Regions from separate parts of the Homo sapiens genome. Here all the other regions are linked to region 1. Evidence: promoter capture Hi-C in human tissues and cell types (Jung and others, 2019). All regions are on one chromosome and are shown on one strand. The core of a region is centred on a gene start or on the middle of the fragment in contact, and the rest is flanking DNA. Distances in the headings are between cores, read along the strand shown. Region 1 holds the start of EVX1 (even-skipped homeobox 1). Region 2 overlaps JAZF1 (JAZF zinc finger 1). Region 3 overlaps JAZF1 (JAZF zinc finger 1). Region 4 overlaps TAX1BP1 (Tax1 binding protein 1).

The links. Contacts are between HindIII fragments. The study calls those that stand out against the background at their distance.
Region 2: a contact is called between a fragment that was not itself captured here and the fragment with the promoter of EVX1 in region 1, in 4 of the 25 tissues and cell types used here (heart left ventricle, mesendoderm cells, spleen and 1 more).
Region 3: a fragment that was not itself captured here is called in contact with the fragment with the promoter of EVX1 in region 1 in 4 of the 25 tissues and cell types used here (IMR-90 fibroblasts, lymphoblastoid cells, mesendoderm cells and 1 more).
Region 4: a fragment that was not itself captured here is called in contact with the fragment with the promoter of EVX1 in region 1 in 2 of the 25 tissues and cell types used here (mesenchymal stem cells and small bowel).

Annotation. Positions count from the first base shown.
Region 1 is chr7:27,240,386-27,245,051 of GRCh38, forward strand. It overlaps EVX1 (even-skipped homeobox 1), which reads left to right and starts at 2,417. Exons shown (of 3, transcript NM_001989.5): 1 at 2,417-3,072; 2 at 4,663-4,666. The coding sequence starts at 2,646. It overlaps EVX1-AS (EVX1 antisense RNA), which reads right to left. Exons shown (of 4, transcript NR_120507.1): 2 at 1,530-1,625; 3 at 1,164-1,256; 4 at 1,044-1,065. RefSeq lists an enhancer at 2,035-2,912. The HindIII fragment of the contact is 9,702 bases long and covers 995-4,666 here.
Region 2 is chr7:27,905,506-27,910,124 of GRCh38, forward strand. All of the region lies in intron 2 of JAZF1 (JAZF zinc finger 1), which reads right to left. Among named protein-coding and RNA genes, the nearest start is that of TAX1BP1-AS1, 170 kb to the left of the region's middle. The HindIII fragment of the contact is 3,503 bases long and covers 91-3,593 here.
Region 3 is chr7:27,946,263-27,950,702 of GRCh38, forward strand. All of the region lies in intron 2 of JAZF1 (JAZF zinc finger 1), which reads right to left. Among named protein-coding and RNA genes, the nearest start is that of TAX1BP1-AS1, 210 kb to the left of the region's middle. The HindIII fragment of the contact is 6,016 bases long and covers 1-4,440 here.
Region 4 is chr7:27,790,521-27,795,169 of GRCh38, forward strand. TAX1BP1 (Tax1 binding protein 1) reads left to right here. Exons shown (of 17, transcript NM_006024.7): 9 at 1,486-1,710; 10 at 2,546-2,692; 11 at 3,803-3,926. Among named protein-coding and RNA genes, the nearest start is that of TAX1BP1-AS1, 52 kb to the left of the region's middle. The HindIII fragment of the contact is 7,368 bases long and covers 1-4,649 here.

The DNA of each region.
Region 1 (4,666 bases), core at 1,167-3,666:
TAAGCCCTGCTCCGTAGGGCCCGACCCAGGAAGCAGACTAAGTGGCACTCCTTGATCTCTCACTCCTACTCGGCTTTCATCTCACCCAGAAGAAAAGCGGATCAAACAGAGGATTCCCATTGAATGCAGAGCTGGGGGCGGGGTGGGGAGCCAGGAGTCCCTCTGAGGACCCAGCCCCCAGGAGATGGGGGCAGCAGGCTACTCACGAGAAGGTTAAGCGCTCAAGGAGGAAAGGAGGGTGGGCACCTCAAAGGCCCAGTGCTGGAGGGCCCTATAGAGAGTAGGCAACCTTGGAAGCTCTAAGACAGATGCCCAGGGGGCTTGCCATTGACAGGAAAGAGAGCAAGCCAGGTGCTCCCTCAGGCTGTGGCTGCTGGTAGGGAGGACAGAGAAAGATAGAATACCTGGACAGCTCTCCAAGGCAGGAAAAGGTTCTAGGATTTGACTCCCCTCACTCCCAATTGATCCTCTCACCTCTAAAACATTTCCCTGGATTTTGGGGCTAGCAGTGCTCAGCATATAGTGGCTTCAGGAGTCCCAAGGAGTAGAAATATCTATGTGGACACTACCTTCCGGATCCCGCTGCCTCCGCCCCCAGGCAAGATTAATGAACATCGTCTTAGACTGAAAGAGAAGTGGAAAGCCGGAGTGAAGAGGAAACTTTGTCTTTCTTTGGACCCCTTACTTCCTCTACCTTCCTTAACCCTATGGATAGGAAGATGGAGGAGAGAAGCAAAGAAGGAGAAGAATACAGAAAGAGAAAAAGGAGGAGAGAAAAGTAGGAGATAACAGATAAAAAGGTCACGGAAGAGGACTTACCTGTAAAAGCTGGGGCTTTGCTAGGGACACAGAAAGGAGGGAGGTGCTGGGCTGCCCTTTGCAGCTGGCTGCCTAGGGCTAGAAGCTCTTCGGGAGGAGGCGGAGAAAGGGGGGTTGAGCATAGAAGGTGCCCACCTCCTGCTCTCAGCAATGTGGGGATAGACTCAGCCCACCCACCTGGCCCCAGCACACTTGCTTGGAGCTCAAAAAGGGTCAGTTTGAAGGAGTTTTATACCAGCTTCTTCCCTGGGAGAGGAGCCAAGAGAGGCCTATGGCAGCTTCCAGATATTAAGTTCCACAACCCCTGCCCCCACCTCCAGCCCTTCATCAGAGTCCCTACTTACTTGCTGTTTTAGGGCATTTTCAGCGACTTCACTCTCTTCTACCTCAAACGCCATCCACTTTTGGAGACAGGTACCACTGCCCCTAGGCAGGGACTTGGGAGAGGACCTTATGAGTCAAACCTCTATGAACCCCAACCTTTTTGTACTCGGGGAGGCTGAACCCCTGCCCAAAATAGCGCGGTGAAAGCTACTGCCTTCTCCCAAGTAGGGGCCTCCAGTACTGCCACAGCAGGGGCCGCATTCCTGGCGCCTCTTCATTCGAAAAACCTCTTTCCAGGAGACTTCGCTGATTCTGAACGAATACTTTAAAATATGGGCAAGGGAAAAAAAAAGACAACTCTTAGAAACTCTCCCCACCCAACATACCTGGAGTGCAGGCGAGGTCCAGGCAAACGGGAAAGCGACTTCTTGTACGAATAGCCATCTCAAGATGAAGCCAGGCTGTGGAAAACTTAAGGCCATCTAGATGGGAAGGAGGTATTTAAAAGAAATCAGCACACACTCTTACAGAAGCCAAGGCGGGTCTTTAAATTAAAAAATAATAATAAGGTATTTATTTCTTGCCCCTTAGGGAAGAAAAATAGCAAAGTTTGGTTCGCAGGAGTAAGGAGACAGAGGTGGGTAGGGAGAGGGAGGAGAAAAGAGGAAAAGATGGCCCAGCCTCAAGCTCTCCAGTCAACTTGGGGCGGGGGAATACATTTTTCCGTAGCTTGTAAAAAGACTTTTCAGCCAGTTTGAGGTTAGCTGCCAGGGGCAGACAGTTGTAATAATGCCGACAGAATTGAGGCTTGTAAGCCGGGCTTCACACTTCTAAAATGCAGTTATGGATTCTTTCATCGGTGTTAGATCAAGGCACCAAGTTAAGAAAACAAAAGTCAAAACAACAATAAAAGAAAAAATCAAAAGCTTATTTAATTACCGAGTCCCGCTGCCCCTGCGGAACTCGCCGCGCGCGTTAAGCTCTCTTTTCTTTCTGCGGAATTCCATTTGCATCCCCTCTGCCTGGGTGTCTCCCTCTCTCAGTGTGTGTGTCTCTCTGTCTGTTTTCACACTCTCCTCCCCAATCGAGCGAGGCCCACACCTGGCGCATCACTGCCGAGCCATTAGCTGCGGGTTTCCTTTCATCTTCGCTGTGGCAGACGTTTCTATTTATCCACTTGCGCTCGCCGAGTGGCGTCACCAGCGGTACTGTAATGACGATTGCAGCAGGAGGATGACAGCTTAGAAAGAAGAGGGCAATGGGGCTTCCTCCCAGAGGCGGTGCGGCACAGAGGAGCGCTCGCTTCACAAGGTGACCCTAGCTCCCACCGCCACCGCCGCGGTCGCGGTCCAGACCGCGCTCCAGCAGCTCCGCGCCCTCCCAGGCACCCGGCCTTTCTTTCTCCCTCTTGCAACCAAGATCCGTCCGGCCGCTGGAGACCCAGGGAGCCGGGGTTAGGAACTCACTTGGGGCTTTCCCCTCCCCCACCGGAGAGCCCCGGGATGGAGAGCCGAAAGGACATGGTTGTGTTTCTGGATGGGGGTCAGCTTGGCACTCTGGTTGGCAAGAGAGTCTCAAATTTGTCCGAAGCCGTGGGCAGCCCGCTGCCGGAGCCGCCCGAGAAAATGGTGCCCCGTGGTTGCCTGAGCCCTCGGGCCGTCCCTCCGGCCACCCGGGAGCGCGGCGGGGGAGGCCCGGAGGAGGAGCCGGTAGATGGACTCGCAGGCAGCGCGGCGGGGCCGGGCGCCGAGCCCCAGGTAGCTGGGGCGGCCATGCTCGGCCCAGGACCCCCGGCCCCCTCAGTCGACAGCCTCTCCGGACAGGGGCAACCCAGTAGCTCGGACACCGAGTCGGATTTCTATGAAGAAATCGAGGTGAGCTGCACCCCGGACTGCGCCACCGGGAACGCCGAGTACCAGCACAGCAAAGGTAGCCACCGTGCCCCTCCGCTCCCCGGGCCTCCCACTGCGCCCACCCTTCACTTCGGCGCAGGCCAGGAGGAAGACACTCCCTTCCCCTAGGGCAGGATGGCTGGGGGGACCCACCTGAGCAACTCTCTCTGCTATCTGCGTTCTGGCGGGGGTCTCCTACTGTGTTCTGGCATTGGCGGGACTGAGGGTGACAGCAGTGCCTTGAGTGCGGGGTGCTGAGGGGGCGGATGCAAGTCCTGGACTTGGGGGATTCGAAGCTCACCCCAAGCACCCAGTGTTTCAACTGCTCGGGGAATGCTTCAATTGCTCGGGGAAGACACTTTCCCCAGGCGAGGGCAAGATCAAACGCCGATCCGGGCAGTTTGTGGCTGGCAGGGTGTAAGAGGCATGGAGGCGCGGAAGCCAGGAGTCCATAAAGGACCGTAAAATTGCGGCCCACTTGGGCAGCCCGGGTGCTGCAGCCCTCCGACCAGTTTGCACGTCGGTCAGAGGTCCAAATTACCTTGTCACTTCCCGGGCTTCGCGGCGCCAGGTCGGAAATGGTCCCAATGGTCTAATTGCCTTTGGTCTCCGGTTGCATTTGAAAAGGCAGAGATCGGGTCCTCCCCCCTTCCCCTTTCCTTCCTAGTCCCACTTCTCCACCCAAAGGAAAAGGAGCTGCAGGGGGCTGGAGCCCCACCCTTCTCAGAGGTAGGCCCAAAGGGGGGCTGGTTTAACTGGAGAACCCCTCCCCACCAAAGGCTAATGGGAAAGGGGTGGATAGCCCGGAAGGGAGTTTCCCTCTGTGCCAACAATCACCTCCCCAGAAGGGGGTAGAAAACTGGGCGCGGGTTGGTGGGGGGGAGGAGAGGGGAGCCCACCAGCAGACACTCCTCCACAGAACTGTAGGAGTGGGTGGAAAGAGCCTGGGGGCGGGGGGGAGAAAGACCACCCCCTGGTCTTGGCAGCCAACGCCTTGTTGAATACCTGCACCTACCCCTTACTATCTTATCACCGATTTCACCCAGCCTCCTTCCCATAACCCTCAGAACAACCTGGACTCCACTCACATATACTAAGGTAATAAATAAGATACTCAACATGCATTCTCACTCCAGCCCTGCAATACACGGAACCTAGTACACATTCCCACACCTGTTCTGGCAGCCCGTCACACATAAGAGCAAGGAAACTCTCTGAATGCCCAGCATACTACAATGCACTTGACCCAGAGTTTACAACCCTCTAGCACAAAGGTGCATCTCAACTCATGTGCCTGTCAGAAGTGCACGCCCTGCCAACGGGAGGCAGAAATCTCACCTATGCTCCAGGGCAGGTGGGAAGGGCGGCTGGGAACCCCTGTACCCAGGATGCCTTAGAGGAAGGGAAGGCCTCCCCAAAGACCTCTACCTACCCAATCAAGGGCAGGCCCTTATTTTCCCTTCTTGGGTTCCCCAGAGGCCGCAGTACCCTAGCAGAAACAGTTACTGAGGTGGCTGACAGGGTGTCCCTTCCCAAATCACCCTCCCACCTTAGGCCTACAGCCCCACTTCAATGGCGTTTGTGTGTCTGTGTCTGTACACGCCTGTGCTCTGGACTCGCTGTGCAGGGTC
Region 2 (4,619 bases), core at 592-3,091, 660 kb after region 1:
TTTCCTTCATCTACTGTCTTGACAATCATATTTTATTTATTTTTCTTTTTATTTTTTATTTTTTTTCTTATTTTTATTTTCTTTTTTAAAGGCAGCTACAGTAAATTTATATTCTCTTTGGTATATTATAGTTTGGATATTCCATACCTTTTTTAGTATTTAAATAACATTGGGTTGCCAATTTTTATATTGCCATGTATACCTTATCTAACTACCATCTATCATCACCAGCCTCTAATTAAAAAGGAAAAACTACTTTAACATAAAATATAGGAAGAGCATAATCTTGGAATAAATCCTTTCTTGAGAAAGGCTTTCTTGAGAAAGATTCTTCTTTATTCTGAGATTATGATAACAGAACATAGGAAAAATCTACTTAAACTGTTTTGATGAAGAAAAGCCACAATATAAAATTTCATGTTATCATTACTTTATACTTGCATCACATATATATAGTATTATTTATAACATACTGTTTACAATTATTCTCTAGATGCAAATTTTTAAAAATATCTAAATGTGTTTTCTATTATTATCATTGCGAAAAATTCAGTTGCAAGGAATGCTGACCAAACAGAACTCTTAAATTTAGGTGGAATTGCTTGAAATATGCTAAGCAAACGAAAGAAGGCAAATACAAGGGCACTCAAATCCAGTAGCTTCTCCTTTCCAAGAGCTGGGAGGTGGTGAGCAAGAGCTGAGTGTCCTCTCACAGCTGGACACACAGAGGGGTGGTGAGGTGCTGGATGCCCCCGTTCCCTGGCCCCACATGCCCCAGGCAGACACTGCAGACCAGTGGAAACGTCCTCATGAACAGCAGCAGACTAGCAGCTGTGGTGTGGATAGCACTTAAGAACCACTTTTTTAAACCAGTAGTATCTTTTCCTAAATTTTGGCACTCAAATGAAATCCAGGCACCAAAGCTGAGCCATTGAAATAACAAAATCCCATTCCTGAATACTATGTCTTTGTATGTTCCCAACAAATATTGTATATTTTCTTCACAACTATGGAATGATATAGTCAATCTACCTTAATGAAAGCTTGCTCAGGCTCTGGCAATCACTCTTTAAAGTCACAGGTCAGCATAAATTATCAGTGAAGCAATTAATTTTGATTTACTTTAGCCTGAATAAAATAAACCATGGTCTTTTCCGTCATTGATGCCAAGAATAAAAAACACTTCTGAAAGCTACCATACCACAAGTCTTTGGTTTGGAGACCAATGGAATATCTTTCTCTTGGCAACTCCCTATCCTCCTTTCCGTTCCTTTTCTACCCTCATTGAATTGCAAATAACTATGGCTATTTCTTACACATGGTTTTCATTGCTAATTTGACATCCACGTAAAGACTAATGAACAAAACAAAGAAGCTGCACTTTACAAGGTTTTGTGGTATAAAACTACAAATAGCTTTTCAGTTTTCTTGTTTTGCCTCCTCTAGAAGTAAATTAAATGAGTTATTGAGGTTTCACTGTAAGCTGCTAATGAGATGATGCGTAACTTTCCCCATAAACTAGAAGAAATTTAAAAACTGAAGAGAAAGTTGCACTAAGGCTCTTAGAGTTTTAAATCCAGTATTCAGCTGGGAACACAGCCTGGTGGGTGAAAAAATCTAGGTTCTGAAGGCAAACTCTTAATCTGAGTTAGTTGGTGTTCAAGCTTAGAAAATTAATGACTCCTTCTCATCTTGGGGTCCTCCTTATAAAACAGAGGTAATCCTAACACCTACCTCATGGGGTTTATTATCAACATCTCATTGGATAAATGCATGAAAAGCCCTTGGCTCCACATAATACTCAATATATGTTAGGAGACCACTCAGAGTTGTGGTATTTCCATGGGTGCTGGCCTTGTGCTCCTGACCCTTTCCCAGGAAGGAGAAATTGTTTATAAATTTAACTGCCATCTAGGAGAATTCTTACATAAGAGGTAATTTCTTGGGGGAACCTATGCAGTCCACAGTTGGGCTAAGATAGGTATCGAAGCCTGGGATTGGACATCTCCATTTCCAAAGAAAAGTGCTTCTCTGATGTTGCATGGCCTTATCCTTAGGTGAATTCTTCTGACAAGGTGGGGTGGGTGACCATCAACATCCAGCTAAGAACAAGGGACTCCCGGGGAATCTAGCACCAGGGGGTGAGGCACACTGGAGGTGTCCAGTTAATTAAACACTGGGTTGAGAAAGGGGAGGAGAAGCAAATGAGATGGTAGAAGATTCTCAATGTGAGAGGAGGTCTCAAATAGGTAGGGTTTTTCTATGCCAGAGATGGCACACACAGTGGCTCTCGTGCCACTTAAATGCACTCTGCCCAAGACGGCCACACGAATCGATTACAGCACTCTTGCCTGTGCTGCTTTGGGACTCAGCCTTACAGTTTTCTTCAGCACTGTGCCCTAGGTAGTCACTACAAACCAATGAAGGTGACATGTAAGCTGAAAGTCTGTGCCATCGTGGACTTACACATTTTCTTCTATATCTACTGAGATTTCCACTAATACCCTGGCCTGGGCATTTGGTACATACTTTATCCCTTCTCAGAAAATCAGAGAACAAAGCTGGCAGACTGTAATATCTGAGAGAGAAAGTTGAGTATGTCTAAGACAAGAGCTGTCCCCAAGCTAAAGCAAGAATATTAGTGACATATTCAGATAACAGCATCTATTCATGAAATGTAATTATGTATGGGCCAACTGCTCAAATTTATGGTGTATATGAGACTTGTTTATACACAGAATAGCAGTCAGCAAATTAGCATTGTTGAAAGATAGAGCAGAGTTTACAGCACTTTTTCTTAAATGAAGTACTAATAATAAGACAGTAAAACTATTTTGGGGGCAAAGCCAGTTTCCAGCATGGGCTGTTCTGTGACAAAGCATGTGCATGTGGGCATCTCAAGCTTACAGACCTCAAGTCTCATGGGTTTTGGGGGTTGATTTTTTTTCAAAGTGATTTTTTGCCTTTTGTTGCAAGAGTTCAGTTAAACTACTTCTGAACTTAAAAGCATTAAATAAAATTCATGGACGGTCACTGATTTGGACTAAGGTTCTGCACTAGGCCCCAACTGAGCAGACCAAACCAGAATGGAGTTGCTCAGGCTAAACTTTGAAATGGGCCAGTTTTCCAAAAAAACAGGACAGTCACAGCAACCAATCAGAAGGGGCCCAGTTTACCTAAGCTGGAAGTCCCCTGTAAGAACAACAAATGACTTTAAAAGAACCAATGCACTTTTTGTTCTGTTTCTGCTTTTCTCAGCCCTTTTCTGCCTATCAGGCCAACCTCATCTACTCAGCTCATTGGAACACACATTCTATTTTATAAAATGAGGTGTTGCCTGATTCGAGAATCACAAATAAAAATCAAGTGAAGTCTTTAAATTTGTTGTAATTTTGTCTATTGACAAGTTTAGTTTTCCCTGTTATCCAGGAGGCTGGCACCTGTTGAATATGTTCAGGTATTATTAGGTTATTCAGGTAAGTACACACTTGAATAATATTCATTCATTCATTCATTCATTCAGAGGCAGAATCTCGCTGTGCTGTCCAGAATGGAGTACAGTGGCGTGATCATAGGTAACTGCAGCCTCGACCTGCTGGGCTCAAGCAATCTTCCTGCCTCAGCCTCTTGAGTAGCTAGGACTATAGTTGCACACCACCAGGCCCTGCTAATTTTGAATAACCACCCAGGCCCTGCTAATTTTGAATAACCACTTTCTTTTTTTAATTGAAGAAATGTGAAGTTCCATGCCTCCTCTTCTGCCTACTGAAGGTTAACCCAATTAGTCTGAGTGCTAAATATACTTGGTAAACTGTGAACTGTGTGTAAATCTTGGGTATGGAAAGGACGCAGATGTTGATGATGGTGATAATTTAAACTTTTTATTAGGCATAATTTCAAAAAAAAAAAACCCACCACTGGCCGGGCGCGGTGGCTCATGCCTGTAATCCCAGCACTTTGGGAGGCCAAGGCGGGCGGATCACCTGAGGTCGGGAGTTCGAGACCAGCCTGACCAACATGGAGAAACCCCCATCTCTACTAAAAATACAAAATTAGCCGGGCATGGTGGCACATGCCTGTAATCCCAGCTACTAGGGAGGCTGAGGCAGGTGAATCGCTTGAACCTGGGAGGTGGAGGTTGTGGTGAGCTGAGATCCGCCACTGCCCTCCAGCCTGGGCAACAAGAGTGAAACTCCATCTCAAAAACAAAAAACAAAACAAAACAAAAAAACAAAAAACCCACAACAACCGCCACAATGTCAATATTTTGCTATCTTATTTAAGCTTTCTCCCTTCCTCCCTTTTTAGGCCATGATTGATAATTCACATATTTTTCATCTTGTGTTCACATAATCACTTAAAAATATATACGGATTTTTAAAAATGGAAGAAAGGAAAGACAGAAGAGAACAAAGGGAAAAGGAAATTTTTCCAACATAGTTCCTGGGAAATACCTAACATAGATTCACAATTAAGATGGCCAGCAGCATAACCGCAGGGACACAACACACACTGCCAAATGCTTGCAAAGGAGGAGCACTGTTATATAGAGTCTATACCATTGAATGACACTGAATGTTTATTAATTTGAAAATATCAGCCAATGGTTCCCAACTCTT
Region 3 (4,440 bases), core at 1,702-4,201, 710 kb after region 1:
GTAGTAAATTTGTTTAGTTTAAAAGGGAAATTAAATGTTCTGGTTACCACACACACCAAATAAAGATATGTAATTTTTGAAGAATTAACCTAAAGAAGATCTATCTAATACGCAATCTGAAGGCACTTTGAAATCTTGTAGTGTCTCATATTTAGCACCAGCTGACAAAGGCTGGGGATAAAACAGCCTTTGTTTTAACTGAAATTCTCCTGGAAAAAACATCCGAGAGTCTCCATGATTCCCCCAATGACCAACTGATTTTCCTTGAAGTTTTGGAGTACTCAGTATTCACAGGGTTGTGAGTGGCTTCCAAAAATAGATTTCTGGGCTGCATGTCATCCCTAATAGAGCAGAACTGTCAGATGTTGGGGTAGGGATTTGTGGTTTTAAATCTCCCTAGTGACTGCAGAAGGACCATAAGTGGGAGCAATTATTCTAGGCCACTGAGGGGCTCCAAAGGTGGCTTCTGTCTTATGTTGTAGCTGTAACCTCAATCACAAACACAGATTTATACACAGAGATTTTGATGACATAGAGTTCTGAATCCAAAGGTGAGGAAGGGTTTTGTTGTCTACGTGTCAGTCCTTGAACTTGTGTCTACATGTTTAGTAAACTACGGTGGTCTTTTATTCCACTGAGGACAGAATATCACTGTAATATGTAAATATATGCTACTGCCCTAAAGAAAAAAAAGAATGCAAAATGTTCTGAGTAGCTACGCTATGCCCACTGCATTCAATCAGAAATGGTCCTGAAGTTTTTGTTTTCAAGCAAACTTGGCTGAAGTCTAGATCATTTTATAGTGGAATCACAAAGCAATTTGTTTTTCCTCTCACAAAGCAATTTGTTTTTCCTCTCTGAGGTGAAAATATAAAGCCTCCTGTTACTTATGCCATGACATCTAAAAAGCAGATGATATTATACATTTTCATTGTCGTCAAGAGTCTACGTTTTTGTTCCTTTCTAGCAGATTATTTAATTACTCTGCCAAAGGATGCTCATAATGTCATGTTTGCAAAACAGCTTTAAATGCTTTCAAATACTTCCAAGATTAAAATAACTGCTGAGTTATTTTGCTTTCTGTGGACAGTTCAATTTCATCTCTGAATATACTCTTTTTCTGATGGATTTATAACTACTACACAATAGTAGCCATCCATAAAGAACAATATAATAGGTACTAAGAATCTAGCACTCACAGTTGTTCTGTTTTTGGCATTTGTGGCTTATGAGAGCCTCTGCTATTCCTTTCAAGTGAATCTGCTTTCATGCAGCATTTACTTCTTGACAGTTCACATAATTTAGTCAACACTCCTTAATTTTTTCCCCTTTGATCCATGACTATGTGTAAACCAACCAAACAAAAAACTATAAAACTCTAAACATAGTGAATTTCTCCTGTTTTTCCTCCCTTCTCCTTCTAGTTGGTTATTTACATCACTAGTGACATACTATAATAAATTGCCATCACCATCCCCTTCCTCACTGTGGATCAAAGCCTTGGAGTGCTTGATGAAAATTTATTAGACCTCTGCCCACTGATTCCCACCTGGCTGCTCACAGCACCCTTGGCCAGCATTGCCTTGAGCTGGCTGGAGACGGACACTCTGATGACTAACAGCTGGGTGTCTCAGACAAGCCGTCTCTACCTCCAGCATCCACGGGCTAACTCTGCTTGCTTTCCTACTTCTCTTTTCTTATCTTACACTTAGGTCTTTTGGTCAATTCATGGCAGAGGCTGCCAAGGATGTCAAAAACAAGACGTGGGGGCAAAGGGGTGGGTGTGGCCTGCAGATGGTCTATGTGCCATACCAGGCCACTGGACGGTGCTGCTGGGCTGGTGATATTCGGGTCACTGATGTGGGGTAGCCAGCCACTGAGAGGTCCTGGGGAGCCTGAAAATCACAGGCTGGGCAGAGAGAAACACTCTGAGGGGCTTTACTGTGGGAGATTTACAAGACCCAGGGGTGTTTACATCTGTGCTCAGTTTCAAGCATTTTCCCGACTGCTTCATGCCACGGTGCTCCAGCTTATCATTGCAAACACAGCCAAATAAAAACTACATGTGGCATTTGGTAAAATTTATACAGAGGGGCAGCTGTTGTATCCTGCCTCACCTGAGGCTCATCTAATCAAACAAATCTGGCAATAAGGATGAGAGACTGTAAAGTCCAAATGAAGCATTATTTTTTTTCTGCATCCCCTTTCCCACTGTGCCACAATGCCTATGGAAAATGAGACCAAATCAAAACCTTGTAAGAGTCTGTAATTACCCTGACAGCAATGACTTATCATTTGTACACCCCTGTATTTTCTGTCCCTTCTTCTGAAGACTCACTTCAGGCATGCGGGAGCACTTACAGCCAAGATGTCAGGAACAGAAACACAGTAACCATCTGAATATTGATTGTATACAATCTTTATATTGACTGTATATTGACCACCTGTATTGATAACCTACAAGGGTTTGCAGATAGATTGCTAGATCATGTTTTTGGTGATTAAAAAGAGAATGGGGGCTCCTGGATGTAAAATACCATACTTGAAGGTAGTGGTCAAGTTTTGGAATTTTTTCACTTGCTTCATTCTACATTTGTGCAGCGTTCTACCCTATGTCAGTGATTAGAAAACTGGGCAATTAACTTCACGGATTTCTACCTGCCCTTAGAAGACATCCATTTTCTGAACACCCAGGAAGTCCTGATATATGCTAAAATGTGCACCCACAAACTCACAAGGCTGCATAAGAGGCCAAATTCAGCAGGCCCTGCTGTCAGCCACACCCTCATCCCACAACAGCTGCTCTCATCAGTTACACCCTTTGCATCCTTGTCTAGATGTTATTTTCTGGACTCCTCCAATTCCATAGTCACTCAGATAAATTCTGTAGAACAATAATACTGACATCTGGATTTTGGGAGGCCAGGGAGAGTTGAGGAGAGAGAAAGGGATGAGCTGAGAAGGGAAGGATTTGCGATGCAAGGCAACTGTCAACACAACAATTCTGGCTGATCATGCTGTTCCTTGGGCTCCCCGTTTGACCTCCACCAGCCTTTCTATTGTCGTGCCCTCCTGTCATTCCCCAGTGTTTTCTTTTCCTTTTGGTAGTGGAGGTCCCCACACTGTCAGCCTTTAGAGTGCATGTGTAGTTCCAGGACCCAAACTACAAGCAGGGAAGTGTTGCCATGCTCATGCATGATGCTGACCTTCTCCCTGTGGGTCTGAGCCACAAAGTGTGCTCTTGTGGTTATTTAAAAGTCTGCCTCCGGCCAGGTGGATCATGTGAGGTCAGGAGTTTGAGACCAGCCTGGCCAACATGGTGAAACCCTGTCTCTACTAAAAATACAAAAATTAGCCAGGCGTGGTGGCACATGCCTGTAATCCCAGCTACTCGGGAGTCTGAGGCATAAGAATTGCTTGAACCCAGGACAGAGAGGTTGCAATGAGCCGAAATTGTGCCATTGCACTCTACCCCAGGCAACGGAGCAAGACTAGCAAGACTCTGTCTCAAAAACTAAATATATAAATAAAATAAAATTAACAGTCTGCCTCCTAGACAATGCCAATCGTTAAAAAGCTGCCTCTCACAGCTCTGCTAGCCTCATGAATGTATGTCAGGAGTCTCAAGTTTACCCCTCAGACACAGGTCAAAATTATCTCTCCACTGTCTCCCAATCCCCAACTTAGGAACTTCCCAGGATTCCTGACTTTTACTAGACACTCAGCTTCAGACCTAAATTAGAGAGATAACTTACCTGCTTTTCACGATACTTTTGATACAATCTCATTCCACCTTCCACTCCTCTTTGTGAAACATTGGCATCATTGAGCTTTGCACCGGTTAACATTTTCAAGGTTCAAGACTTTGTAGTATCATCATGAGCATGTCAAATGAGACTATGTATATCAAAATATTTTGTAATCTGTTAAGTAATATAGAAGTGGTTAGATCAGCCAGATACCAGAGCATTAAGACTCTCTGCAGAGTTGTTGAGGCTATACAGTCTGATGTCAGAGCAGGAGTCTCAGCTGACACCCTGAGCAGTTGACAGCGAATCACTTGAGGGACTAAATATGCAAAGCTGCTTCAAGCTCCAGGTGGCCCAGTGCCCATAGGCACGTTTGGATCCATTGCCTTGGAATGCCATCCCTCCCAAGAGGGATTGGGATCATCCAGTAGCCCTATCTAGTTGAAAAGATCTACAGAAGACTACCAATGAAAAGCCACTATCACACCCACACCCACGGGACCTTTGAGTAGGTCTAGGTAGGCGTACACTTTACCAAAAACCAGGATTTTTATGACACTAACCCTAATGATCTTCAACCTATAATAACTGAAGAACCAAATGTCAAACACAGGTCTGGTACTTATGAAACCATTCTAACTTTGAACCAAACTTGGTTAACAAAACTTCAATTCTGTATTGTCCAAGGGAC
Region 4 (4,649 bases), core at 1,657-4,156, 550 kb after region 1:
TGTAATGTCTGCACAGACTTTGATTATATAGAGGTAGTATATCATAGTTTATCATAAATTCTCATGTTGGTAGACATTTTAGGTTCTTAATGATTTTTCATTATTTTAGTATTTTATTGAATCCTTGTAAAGCTAAACCTATGTCTATACCCTTTGATAATTTTCTTGGAAACTTATGGAAATAAAATTGCTAGATCAAAAGCTGTGAGAATTTTTAAGGTGCTGATGAATGTTGTAAATATCTGATGAGAAAAGATGCCAGTTACAGTTTATATAAGCCCACCTGTTTGTGAATGTGCCAGTTGCCCTAAACCCATGCAAATATTGGAATGTTACTGTTTTTTTGATCTTTGTTAGTTTGAAAGGTGAATGGCATTTGTTTTAACTTATTTGTTTGATTGTTGGTGAGTTGAATTTTTTTACTGCATAATCGCATTTATTTCTTTAGAAAATTTTGTATGTTCATGACTTTTGACTTTTGTTTTGTTTCTCCTTATTGACTAGAAAAGTTATTTATATCAAGTATTATTATACCTTTCTTGAATATATTACATATAATTTTCTTCTAGTTCTTTTTCTTCTCCTTTGACATATAGAAGTTGGCGATCTTTTTATAGGTAGATCTATTAGTGTGATGCCTCCGAAGATTTTGTCCATGCCAACACTGCATAAAATCATCATTTACATTTCCTTCTAAGGGGCTAACAGTTTAGAAACCAATATTGGGTTGCATTTTTTTCCTGATTTTACATTATTTTTAGTACAGAGATTAAAAACAGGAAGTTGAATAAACTAAATTTATTGTGTTTATAATGTTTAAATGTTATAATGTTTAAACATTAATATTAAAGGAAATAATTTCACCATGGCAATTTTAGCTTTTTAAAGATACTTTTAGGTTTGTCAAGCAGTATGAATTACTTTTCATTTTCCCAATGCCTCGTCTTTACTATTTGTATATCAATATTTTGTTTTTAGAACTAAGGCCTAAATCTGTTCTGTGTTTTTATAATGATATGAAATAGATTTATATTATATTGGATGTCTCTTGGGGTAGAAAGTAGGAAACATCTTTTAACCAAAATTTTTGGTGTTACAAAGAAGCTTTCGGAATGATTTTTACTGGTAGTCATACAAAATGAGGGTCAGTATTTCTAGCTGAAGAGATTCTGGGGGATGGGATCTTTTGTTTGAGCCTCAGTTTGGGCAGGTCCTTAAGCACTGGGTATGTTGCCTGACTCGCTGTACTTTAGCTTCCTTGTGTATAAAGTAGTAGCAGTGAAACCAAGTACATAGGGTTGTTATAGAGGGAACCTAAAACAAAGTTACTTCTTAAGTTTTTTGTAGGCATATACTCTGTAAGTCATGAGTAGAAAAACCAATATCTAAAATTTTGGCCCTGTTGAAATATGTGCGAAAATTGTTTCTGCTTCTGTTTTTTACTTGAGTGGTTGAATTACAAATATATTTATCTGCTTTCTTCAGGAAGATACTTGTTTTTTAAAGGAGCAACTTCGTAAAGCAGAGGAACAGGTTCAGGCAACTCGGCAAGAAGTTGTCTTTCTGGCTAAAGAACTCAGTGATGCTGTCAACGTACGAGACAGAACGATGGCAGACCTGCATACTGCACGCTTGGAAAACGAGAAAGTGAAAAAGCAGTTAGCTGATGCAGTGGCAGAACTTAAACTAAATGCTATGAAAAAAGATCAGGTAAAACAAGTTAATTTTGAATTTGCATTTTGATTTAAGAAACCACTATAATCTCACAAAGTAGTAAATTGTGTTAAGATAAGACAGGTCAGATTTCTGCCTTATTTTAAATTTAAAATTTTCATTCCTTTTGTTTAGTCATTGTGACTTCTTGGCTTACAGTTAATGTGTGCTGTAAGGAAAACTTCTGTAAGCAGAATTCTTAATGGTTGGTGAAAGCTGCCCTATTGATTAAATATATTGATGTCAGATATGTATTGTTTTGTTTGGAATTTCTTACTAGCTGTATAAAACAGTATTATGGTTGTTTAAGGGAGTAATAATTGCTCTTCAGGAGGTGGATTATTTTTCTCTAGTTTTTTAAATGAACCTTAGTCCTAAGAATGTAAAACTGGACTTAACAAGAGACCCTATGTTGCTCTGTAGCCAAAATCCCAAAATAAAAAAGTGGCCGGGGACAGTTGCTCACACCTATAACCTCAGCACTTTGGGGGGCTGAGGTGGGAAGATCGCTTGATCCCAGGAATTCAAGACCAGCCCGGGCAACATAGTGAGACCTCATCTCTACAAAAATTTTCAAAAATTACCCAGGTGTGGTGGTGTGCAGCTGTAGTCCCAGCTAGTCCAAAGGCTGAGACAAGAGGATTGCTTGAGCCAGGAGGTCAAGGCTGCAGTGAGCCATAATTGGGCCACTGTGTTTCAGCCTGGGTGACAGAGCAAGACTCTGTCTCAAAAACAAAAAAAAGAAAAAAAGTAAGATTGAAGTTGGGGTTACTATTAACATTAGGAGGTATCAGATTTTTATTTTTTTCTTCAAATGTTTGTTTCTTTCTAGGACAAGACTGATACACTGGAACACGAACTAAGAAGAGAAGTTGAAGATCTGAAACTCCGTCTTCAGATGGCTGCAGACCATTATAAAGAAAAATTTAAGGAATGCCAAAGGCTCCAAAAACAAATAAACAAACTTTCAGATCAATCAGTAAGTATCATTAAATTTACACATAGTAAAATGTGTTGTTAGTATTTTTGTTCGAAAATCAAATTTGTAATATTCCAAATATCAACCTTTTAAATATTATTTATCTCTGCTTGATTTCAAGTCATTGGCCAAATATTGTAATAACTCTTCTTTAAAAAAGTCTGGAATTTTAATTTACTGGACAGCCAACAAAGGAAGCAAGGGCAGTAGCAAGGAAAAAACAGAAAAAAGTCTTCTTTTCTAGATAATTTCCCTCTTAAGTTCTTGATAAATATCTGTCACTCAAAACTCAATACTTATTATTGACTCTTGTGACCATGACATCTATCCTCATTGGAGTTCACCATTAATCATCCCTAGGTCTTAGATGGTGTCTCAGTTGTAATTGGCAAGTTCTTCATACTCATATTATGAAGATTCCTATTCCTATTAGATTAGGAACAGTTAAAGAGTGTTAGCTAATTCTTTTTTATTCCATTTGAGAATAGGTAGGTAGATTTGTAATATACCAAAGAAGATGTTTTTGTTTTGAGGTATGTATGTTTCAATGTGGGTCCTTAAACTGTGCTTAAATACAAGGCTTACTATCTGAGGAACTCCTGGAAATGTAGAAGAAACATATTTAAAACCTGAAATTGAAAGTGGTACTATAGCTCTCTTTTACTATGTGATGCATATGATACTTTCCTGGTCCTACTTTTTTAAATCAGAGGAGACAAGCAAGGAATGCATGTAGTAAAGTAGGAAGGCTTTTGTGAAAAAATATGATACTTTAAGTATGACTCACTCACATGTATGAATTTGGCCTGGGGCCTTTTGAGTACGTTATAACTTTGTAGTAGATTTCTGTGAATGACTTATTTTGGTGGTCTTTTGATGAGTTTATAAGAAAAAGCAAAATATAGTATATTTCTTTTGCAACATTTAGGTCAGTTAGCAAAATGATGTGTATAACTTTAGTCTTTGTTGGCTTTTAAAACAAGAGCAGCTTTGTGGACTTCTTAGGATTTCCTAAAGTAATATGTAAAAATATTATTTACTTAGTTACTGCAAGGAGGAAATATAACTAATTCATTGACTCATTTAACAACTTATTAACATTTTGAATAGGCTAATAATAATAATGTCTTCACAAAGAAAACGGGGAATCAGCAGAAAGTGAATGATGCTTCAGTAAACACAGACCCAGCCACTTCTGCCTCTACTGTAGATGTAAAGCCATCACCTTCTGCAGGTAAAAATCTTTTAGACTTTTTGTGTAGGGTGTCCTACATTGAAAAGTACTTATACTGCCTTCTTCCATGTGTTAGAATTTCAGGATGTTCATAAAAATTTTCATGTGATAAGTGAAGGAATTGAGGCAACAAGAAAATAAGGGTATAAATGTAAAATAGAGTCATGCAAGTGGTGAATATACACAACATGAACATATAAAATGTGAATGTAAACTAGTAGTTATCTTCTTGAGACTATTCACACATGTTAAAAATGAGCTGGTGCTTGTGAGTACTCATTTGGGCTACATAGGACAAAAGCCACGAATTGAATTTTTACTTTATGTTCCATTAAATCTATGGAATTTTGAAGCATTTTATTTGTGGATTTTAATTTTTAAATTCTGCAGGGGAAAAAATCCCCTATTATTCTCATATTTTTCTATTTATTCATTTATTTTTGGCTGCTTTGGATCAATGGGGGTACTTCTTCCCTTGTCAATGTACCTGTTGGCTGATGAGTTAAGTTTTTATTAGTTTATTAACTTATAGAACAGAATAGAGAGACATAGTGAGAACATTAATAACATGAAAACTTGGATTAACTAGGTTTTCATCTGTCCTGATTTTTTCACTTTTATGTAAATTTGACAGTAATGACGTTAAATACTAGAGAAAGTATATTTTCTTGTTTAGTGTGTGTAGTAATTGATCTTTTAAGTCTTTTTAAATGTAAACATCTT